Regions from separate parts of the Homo sapiens genome. Here region 2 is linked to region 1. Evidence: promoter capture Hi-C in human tissues and cell types (Jung and others, 2019). All regions are on one chromosome and are shown on one strand. The core of a region is centred on a gene start or on the middle of the fragment in contact, and the rest is flanking DNA. Distances in the headings are between cores, read along the strand shown.

Region 1 (4,958 bases), core at 1,722-4,221:
TTAGAATGATCTAATTAATGATTAGGTAGATTTTTTTTTTTTTGGTCTGAAAGAGACTCAACTTTATTTTCTAGCCATAATACAAAGAAAATTTTCATCTTACAAATGCTGAAAAAATTTTGGTGAGGAACAAAATTTTGGAGAAAATGCTATGAAAATTAACAGCAGCCTCGGTGTTGTTATAGACTCTCAGGAAAATTCTTTTCTGGCAGATCTCTCTCTGGCATTACCATGCATCAGTTATTTTATTTTCATGACAAAAGAGGGCTTCCAGATGTAAATTATTTAGCCTATGGCCAGGCTGCCATAGGATCTATCTATTCCCTCCCAAGAAGATGAACTGTATTTATTCCAGCAAGAAATAAAAACTCGTATTTTTCTGTAAAGTTTCTGTGAAAGACTGTTTCTAGAAATTATTTTTCTTTAATACAATGGTCCCTTGGTATCCACAGGGAATTAGTTCCAGGACCCTTCACGTTCTCAGATAGAAAAATGTCTGATATTCAAGTCCCTTAATGATGTGTCTGCATTTGGTTCCTGCCGGTGGGTTCATGGTATCGCTGACTTCGAGCATGAAGCCCAGGCTTCCACGGTGTTATAGCTCTTAAAGATGGCATGGACCCTGTCCGGGTGCGGTGGTTCACGACTGTAATCCCAGCACTTTGGGAGGCTGAAGTGAGAGGATCACGAGGTCAGGAGATGGAGATCATCCTGGCTAACACAGTGAAACCCCATCTCTACTAAAAATACAAAAATTAGACAGGTGTGGTGCTGGGCGCCTGTAGTCCCAACTAGTCAGGAGGCTGAGGCAGGAGACTGTTGTGAACCCAGTCTGCCTCCGCTGGGAGGCAGAGCTGGCAGTGAGCCGAGATCCACCATTGCATTCCAGCCTGGGAAACAGAGTGAGACTCCATCTCAAAAAAAAAAAAAAAAAAAAGATGGCACAGACCCAAAGAGTGAGTGGTAGCAAGGATTTTTGTGAAGAGTGAAACAGCAAAAGCACAAAGCTTCCACAGCATTGAAGGGGACCCAACAGGTTGCCGCTGCTGGTTGGTGGTGGACAGCTTTTATTCCCTTATTGTCTCCGCCCATGTTTTGTTTTTGTCCTATCAGAGCGCCCTTTTTTCAATCGTCACTACGATTGGCTACTTTTAGGATCCTGCTGATTGCTGCATTTTACAGAGTGCTGATTGGTGCATTTTACAGAGCACTGATTGGTGCATTTTTACAGAGCACTGATTGGTGCATTTTACAATCCCCTTGTTAGCTACAGAGCACTGATTGGTGCATTTTACAATCCTAGCTACAGAGTGCTGATTGGTGCATTTTACAATCCTGTTGTAAGAAAAGTTCTCCAAGTCCCCACTCAACCCAGGAAGTCCAGCTGGCTTCACCTCTCAATAAAATGGCCTAGTATTTGCACATAACCTACGCACATCCTCTCCTACACTTTAAATCATATCTAGATTATTTATAATATCTAATATTATGTAAATGCTGTAAAATAGTTGTTATGCTGTATTTTTATTTGTATATTTATTTATGTTTTAATATTTTGGATCCAAAGTTGGTTAAATCCAGGGATGAAGAACTGTGATGATGGGAGGGCTCACTCTAACTATATTAAAGAATTAGGGTGGAAAGATAAACTTCCTTTCATGGTCCAAATTACGAACAAAAGTTGAAGCATCATCATTAAAATTTGCCCCCAAATGAAAAAGGATGCTAGTGGCTGGATAGCACTATCCTCCTTCCCTCAATTTATTCCTCAAAGAAATTAAAAGGGTTAGCAATTAAAAGGTTTAGAACATCCCCCGTGGAAGGTCACCCGTTCATCAGGTTGTGCCCAGGGAAATTAAGTTTCTGGCTTGCATCACCTCACTCATCTGGGCCACTGGGATAACTGAAGCATCTCACCTCTAGGCAAAGTGCAGGGCCTTAATGGCTAGTTAAGCCCTGGTCAGTGCTGAATTCCATATGACTAATGAGACCGCAAGGCACCTTTGGTTGCGCTCTGCCCCAGGGTGTCCTCAAATTTGTCTCACTGCAATAAAAAACAAAAGTAAATCTAGCTCCAGAAGGGGGTATCCCTCATTTTGGCAGGCCTAAAACAGTAGTAGACAGCAGTGTAGCAGTTATGCACACTAGATCTGTGACTCAGATAATCCTGGGATCTAATCCTGGCACCATCAATCAGACACTGTGGGAATTGGATAAGGTGGTTGTGAGAATTAAATGAAATAATCTTGTATATAGCATATAACCAGTGCCCAAGAAACAATGGTTTTTATTACTATCATTATTTTGGGAAACTTGTCCAACCAGGATATTTTAGATATTGATGAGTGCAGGGTGGGAAAAAAGGGGAAAAAAAAGTCTACTTACCAATCAATAAAAGGCAGTTTAAAGGACTGGAGCTGTTTGGGCAGATAAGTACATTAATCCCACCTACAGTTAGATAAGGGGTCACGTGGAAGGGTGATTGGACTTGTTTAGTAAGGCCCCAGAGGCGGAGGCTGAAACAGTGCAGAGGGTAGAGGTCAAGGAGAGACAAATTTGGATTCATATAAGGAAGCATTTGGGGCAGATTAGAGCGGTTGGGAAAAAACGGCATGGGCTGCCTCCTGAAGGGGTCAGTATTCCAATCTTGGTTACTCAGGATCGGAAGAAATCTTGATGGAGGAGTCCTGGATGGGATTCCAGAGATTTTGAGTTTCTAGACAACGCCTCAGACCGTAGAAGAACGTAGCCCGACCTGCGAGGCCAGCCTCGTCCTGCCCTCCTCCAGTTGTGCAGCTTTCCTGCTGAAAAGTCCTAAAATTTGACCGGGGGACTGGGAACCCCGCCCCCAAGCTGCCGCGCGCTCTGAAACTCCGTTGCTGTGGAGACGGAGGCGGTTGACCCAAGGATTCCGAACGGTGTTGGGGGAGGGGAGCCGACGTGGTTCAGGAACTGGGCGTGGCTTCGGTTACTGTGGTAGCGGGGACGCTTAGGCAGGGCCTGCGCCCAGTTTAGAGGCCAATGCTTCTCCCGTCCTTTGCATGGCACCCAAGAAGGAGAAAGGAGGAACTGTGAACACCAGTTCTAAGATATGGGAACCCTCGCTCATAGCTGCACAGTTCAATCAGGTGAGCCTTGAGCCCTTTAAGCCCTCCCTGCCCCCGGCAATGCCAGAGGCCCGGCCAGACCCTCCTAGGCGACGCCTTAAGGCTCGCCCTCTCTTCCGTATCTCTCCGTGGCCTGATGGTTCCAGGACCCAGGGTCCCAGGGACAGGAAGTGCTTGATAAACGAACGGAACTTAAGGGAACACCCACCAGGTGAGTCAGTGTGATTTCAAAGGTTGGTGAGAACTGCCTAGTGGGGAAGAGAGGAGGTGTCGCTCTGACACCTCCAGAACCTTTTCAGTGAAGTCGTCCAGATGGCACTCCACAATTGTACTGGAATTCCTTTTATGGACTTTTTGTTTTCTCCTGAAACCTTCTAAAGGATGAGAATCGCATCAAATCATCTGTGGCCTGGCCCATAATAGGGCTTTAATAAATGCTGAGTGAAAACAGACACGGAGTGCCTAGAATTACACTGTATTTAGTACAAGCGAGCCTTGTATAGATAGGAAAAGATGATTTTTTAATGTAATGCCCTGATCCCACTATATTAAAGTTTTGACATATTTTTAAGGTGTGGGAGATCAGAGCAATGAGGGGTTGGCGGCCAACTTACCCACAGAATGCCACAAAGGCACCAGGCAATCTACAAACCACCTACCACAGGACTTCAAAGTGCATGAGATCCCAGAATTCACTGGCTCCCCACCCAGCTTCAGTAAATGAGGAGCCCAATAGCTCTTGTCACCTGCAGCTGGAAATCCCCTTCTACATTAAGCTGTTTCTACGTACAAGTTAGCATTTGGGAAGAGAAAAGTTGTTTCTGGAAATTCCAGCCCGCCATTATGAACTACTTTGAAAAGTGGGGAAAAAAAATTTTTTTTTCATTTTATATATGTCTGTATGGTGCACTAGAGAGTCAGTACTTAAAGGGAAAATGGATCTAAAGTCTTGTGTTGCCTTCATGAGAAATTTTTACCTGTCTTTATTTTCCACTATAACTGTTTTTTTTTCCTATTAACAGTAATTCTGTTTGATAAGGAAATTAGTCCTGATGAAGAATTTCATGAAAGTAGTTGTGATACTCCTGATGCTGATGTGATGTCATGGAATTTTGGGTCCTTTCTATAACTTTAGTAATGCTGGATGTCAACTCAGTAATCCCCAGTTACATTCTCAAATTCTCAAAGATGTTTTTCAAAGCACTTTGTAAAAGCACCCTCTCTTTTGCTTTTATAAGTCAGCGCTAGCCAAAATAATTTTTTCTCCATTTTCTTTGAGATTGTGTAGGCCAAGTTTGGTCTTGGAGTGAACATTTCTGCTTGAATTATAAACTGCTGAACAACGGAGTTTGATGGAGGTGCTGACACTGCATTAGCTTTAGTGTTGCAAATATGAAGCTATAATTTTCCTAGTTGAATGGAAAACCTAAAGGCACTATTTGTCCTTATGGCTTGAAAACCTGAAATAATATTCAGCTTTCTTGATCCTACTCAAACAATATAACTTCAATAAATCTTATGTATTAATAGAAAGAATTTGAACTCAAAGTAATATGTAGTTTTAACTATAAACAGTGAACTCAATTTTCTTCAGTTTGTTGGAATACACATTTTCTTATTGCAGGAAAAAGACAACTACCCTCCACCTCCTCTCTCATTTTTCTCTGCTTGATTTCATGTCTGATCTAAAAGAATAATTCCCAGATTAACCCAGCAGTTCAATGCCCAGAGGCGTGCCCTAACCACCAATGAAACGGACTCTGAATTTAGGTTATAGATGACTGTGGGTGTGTGAATTTTGAGCACACGTAGTGTGCTCTATTGTTTTAGTATCCAGAGAGTTTCTTTCCA
Region 2 (4,958 bases), core at 694-3,193, 790 kb before region 1:
AATATTAGCTAGTGTTTTATTTATTTTATAGATAAGTGTATAAAACATATGTTCACAAATGTATGTGCTTATACACAAACTTATGTGTGAACACCATAATATCACCAGAACACTATATCTACATCAAAATATCAGTTCTGAATTGGATGTAGACAAAATTTGGGACAAGAAACTGCCATTGTGTGTGTGTGTGTGTGTGTGTGTGTGTGTGTGTGTAGCTAGTTTAACAAATTGGGAATGTATAAAATTTGGGAGGCCAAAAGTTTTGTCACCCCTAGGTATCATGGGACGATTCTAAAGCATCCCAGTTTTGAAACTTCCAGGTAATGGGCATTTTCATTTAACTTGTAAATAAACTGATGACTGTGACCAAAGTCAGAAGTACCAGTCAAGGCCAGGCTCATGCCTGTAACCCCAGCACTTTGGGAGGCCGAGGCGGGGGGCGGGGATCACGAGGTCAGGAGTTCAAGACCAGCCTGGCCAAGATGGTGAAACCCCATCTCTACTAAAAATACAAATTTTAGCCAGGTGTGGTGGTGCGGGCCTGTAATCCCAGCTACTTGGGAGGCTGAGGCAGGAGAATCGCTTGAACCAGGGAGGCGGAGGTTGCAATGAGCCGAGATAGTGCCACTGCACTCCAACCTGGGTGACAGAGCAAGACTCCGTCTCAAAAAAGAAGGAAAAAAAAAAGCACCAGTCAAAATACCAGAAATTGAGACTGTACAGATGCTATTTAAAAGAACAGGAGGAGTGGAAACTTTTCCAACTAAATTTGGCATTTAATTTTGTAATTTGTATTAATTTTGGATGGGCAGAATGCTACTTTTTATTCTAAAAAGTGGTTTCATGTTCTTCCATGTAGAAAGTAAACGGAATAACTAAGATAAATCTTAATAATAAAAATGGCTTATAGAAATAACTAGAGAAACATCGTGATTTGGGGAAATTAATTTAAGAACGTAAGAAATGCATGTAAAAACGTCCTCTTATTTGTCTTCTTACATTTTCTACAATATAGTTGCCAAGGCTCAAATGAGCTGACAGTTTCCAAAATGTTGCCATACACTTTAGAGGATTAAAAAACAAAAACACAAACCACCCACTACAGATGACGAGTAGAGTTCCCTTGGAAAGGGAACATTAGAGAGGTCATTATTATAGACCTAGCCCGGAGCCTTGGAGTTTTTTTAGCTTTTAGTTGTCAACTGGATGAACCGATTTTCCGAATCCCCTCACCGCTGCGTTCTCTTTACTATCCCACAGCTGGGAGCGTGTAGTTTAAACTCCGGATAGGGTCCGGGAAGCAGTTAACCCCCTTACTTGCCACTCACTTCCCCTCCCCCAATTTTCCTCCACGCACGATGAAAACGTCCAATTCTTCCCCCTCTCCAAGAATTTCAGATCCCGTTTCGCCGCAGAAGGAACTGGGATTGCATCTCTTCTCTTCAACCCATCTCTGGAAAAACAGCGCAGTTTCGGTGACCTTCAGAAGTCAGAATTAGGCCGTGGCCGCGTCTGCCCGCCCTCGGCCCCTCGGCCCCTCGGCCCGGCCTTGGAGGCGCCGCGGGGCCGGAACGGCGAACGGGTCAGGCGCGGCTTGGCTGCGAGGCCTCGGTGTGCCAGCCCGAGTTCCTGTTCTCGCGCCTGGGGCTCCGCGCTGGCCCCACCGCCTCGCCTCGCCTCGCCGCATCGCGCCGCGTGCGCCCGGGGTTATCGCGGGGCCTTGGAAACCCGGGACCCTGGAAACCCGGGACCCGGAACCCTGAGGGATGGCGGCTGTTCTTAGCTCTAATTACATCCTGGAGAAATGTGGGGACCCTGGGCTAACCGGGAAGGCCCTGGTGAAAGACACCCCCCAAAAAACAGAACAGACCAAAACAAAACAAAAACAAATCAGGAACCCGCCAACGACAAACCAGAAATGCAAATGGAACCCAAGGGTCTCACACCTCGCGCCCTGAGGGGAGTTCGAGCTTTTGCTTTCATCAGGCAGAACAAATTTCCGAGGAATCAAACTGACTTCAAACATTAGCAATTAGAAACCAAGAATCCGCTGGCTTGAAGAACTTTTAATCCCTAACCATTTCCAAATGGGTAAATCTAGGGTCAGTATATATCGTAGCTAGTCTGTTAAAAAGGAAAGTCATCCTGTGGGATCGTGACGTGGAGGATCCCTGGGTGCCTAAGAGGCAGGGACGCTGACGCCCAGAAAGCGGGCATTGCCCACCGAGACAAAGAAAAGCAAATGATTGTCCTTCCCGCTGCTCTTGGGGATTAAAAAACAATGAACGAATTCTTTTATTAAAAAAAAAGAAAGAAAAAGAAACCAACCAAGTGTAAAAGCAGAGTGAGAAGTGACTACTAGTAGCTGAAATAACTGCGTTCTTTTAAGAACCCGGCGGGAATGGCTTCCCTTTGGAGGGAAGTCCTGTCCCGATGCATCCTTGCTCCAAAGCTTTAATCTCTCCAGGATACAGGGCTCCGAATTGTAAACCTAGGGGCTAGGTGCCTCGGGTGGTTTAGTTCTTCCACTCTTGCTCCTGAAAAATAAATAACTGATTTTCACAGTGGGGAGGGGCAAACATTTGAGCCAACAAGAGATTGTGAACACAGCAGTGCCTTCCCTGGGTTCAGAAATGTTTTCTCAATTTAGAAGGTTAATTAATAATTTGATATTTTTTGGCATCAAAGGGTGGGAGGGGCTATACGTACTATTTAGAAAGAAGGATTTAGTTAAAAAATTAAAGGTATAAACAAACTTGCAAAGGAATACTGAATTGTAAAATATATCAGAAACTTTACTTACTTATGTGGATATATATGTCTTCACTCTCCTGCAAAGCTTTCAACACAGACCTTCATGTTCTGTATTATATCCATATTTTTATGGTAGAAAGAGGGCTGAAGGAGCTTAAGTTAGGAGTCCTAGATTCTAGTGCTAGCTTTGAAATTGATGTTGGAACCAGGGATATTTGTTTTAAAACCAGACATATTAATGTTGAAAAAAAGTTTCAAAATTGTTTTATAGCCACTGATGAGGCCTCAGTGCCTCATTTGTGAAGTGAGGGAGACAAGGCTCAAATGACTTCTGAGGCCCCTTTAGCTACGAGATTCTGTGATCCTAACTTTGGTTTTGCTTTTTGAAATATTAACATTTTCTCCTAAAGTACTTTGGTCATCACTTGACCCATCCTTACTTTGTTGGAACGAAGGAATTTTACTGCAGTTGTAGAAATTAACAGCAATAGCAACACAAGACCAAAAAATAAAAATAAAAGAGAGAGATTTTTAGAGCTAGAATTAAAAGCTTTGGTAAAGTTCTTGAAAAAGTTTTTATATTAATATCACGTGTTCAACAGTCCTGGATCAGTGATTTCCAGTCCTTGTGTATGATGTAACCTATTGTTGCTTGCGTGAACGCTGTTGAAAGGGTTCTACGGCATTAGCGAATTTAAAGGAAATGTAAGTTATTTATGCTTTGAACATTTTCTGTGCCATTCCCAGAAATAACTGGAAAAACTCTGGATTTGAAAAATGAGGGTTGAAAAAAGCAACTTCATCACTGGTGAGTTGAATTGGTGGGCTAATAAAAATCAGTTGCCCCCTCATTACTATTTGAGTCTGATGGAAAGCACTAGTAACTATTTTCCATGTCTAGTCTGCTTAAGCCGAGATCTTGATCTGGCAGAGATGTGAGAATGCTAAAAGGATGACTTAGTAACAGGCAAAACGCTTGTCAACAAGATAGATCAGAAGACAGCTTAGCATTCAAGGCCTCTATTCATAGCTGCTGAACTTGAGGGCAGGGTCAGATGCAAAACTGTGCCCAGCATACACCTAGGAGGGTTTCTAGTGTTTCTATCTGTAGGACTTTATTTCCTTACAGAGTTCTGCAGGTGGGTTCAAACTCCAGTGATGGCTCCCCACCGTCATCTGATGTCCACATTCTGCACAGCCCCTGTGCAGACTTCTGCAATCATGGAACCTGTGGATTTACTAGTTGTCCTCTGTCGCTACTACCCTATAAACTACTGTAGGCCAATGACCTTGTCCTCATTGTTTTTGTATCTCCAGAACCTAGGACAAGTGGCTGTTACATAGGAAGCACTTAATAAATAACAAAACTATAATAATGATAACACGATAAGAACAACGATAAGAAACAGCAACATTTATTAAATAGGCACTCTGTGCCAGCCCCTGTGCTATATATATATATGTGCATATATATGTGTATATAACAATTATATGTATATCAAAACACTCACAAAATACTCTATCTTATTATCATTTCTATTTGGTGCAATGAATGAATGAATTATACAGTGTAGTGGTTAAGAGCTCAGATTCTTGGGGTCAGACTTCATGTGTCTGAGCCCTGGTTTTAACACTTGCTAGTTGTATGACCTTGGGCAAGTTAGTTAATCACCCTCAACCCTAGTTTCTGCATCTATGAAATTGGAATAATAAATGTGTTCACTAAAGGATTACTTGAGAATTACATGAGATAGTTCACATACAGGAACAAAAGATTTAGCACAAAGCCTATTATTCCTGTCAATTGAATTGACAGCGATTACTCACCTTAGTGAGCAGCTTGGATAAGAAATTGTTTGCAAATTATAATCTATAGCAGCCATTGCCCCTCTCCCCCATTCTTTTGCTTTAAATGGAATGTGTGGGACTTGAAGTGGAATCCCCACTTTGTTTATAGCCCGCAGTTAGAAACAGTACAGAATTTGAGTACCTGTGGCTAATAAAGACGAAAGGAATTTTGACAGCTCTTGCTATTGAATGTTCCACTGAGGCAAAATGCCAACCTGAGTGAGCATCTGGGGAAGGGGTGGGGAGTAGCTGGCTGGCATACAGTAGGAAGAGGGGGTGAGCAGAAGCCGGGCTGAGGAGACTCAGCCTTACCAACTTCCCCAGGAGCTCAGCTCTGAGAAGACAGGAGGGCC

What was found. Contacts are between HindIII fragments. The study calls those that stand out against the background at their distance.
Region 2: a contact is called between a fragment that was not itself captured here and the fragment with the promoter of SPAG17 in region 1, in 2 of the 25 tissues and cell types used here (dorsolateral prefrontal cortex and stomach).

The regions. Positions count from the first base shown.
Region 1 is chr1:118,183,241-118,188,198 of GRCh38, reverse strand. SPAG17 (sperm associated antigen 17) reads left to right here and starts at 2,971. Exons shown (of 49, transcript NM_206996.4): 1 at 2,971-3,128. The coding sequence starts at 3,042. It overlaps LOC105378930 (a long non-coding RNA gene), which reads right to left and starts at 2,969. Exons shown (of 4, transcript XR_947746.3): 1 at 2,386-2,969; 2 at 1,918-2,044. The HindIII fragment of the contact is 16,923 bases long and covers 1-4,958 here.
Region 2 is chr1:118,976,562-118,981,519 of GRCh38, reverse strand. All of the region lies in intron 1 of TBX15 (T-box transcription factor 15), which reads left to right. Among named protein-coding and RNA genes, the nearest start is that of TBX15, 9.3 kb to the left of the region's middle. The HindIII fragment of the contact is 6,637 bases long and covers 1-4,958 here.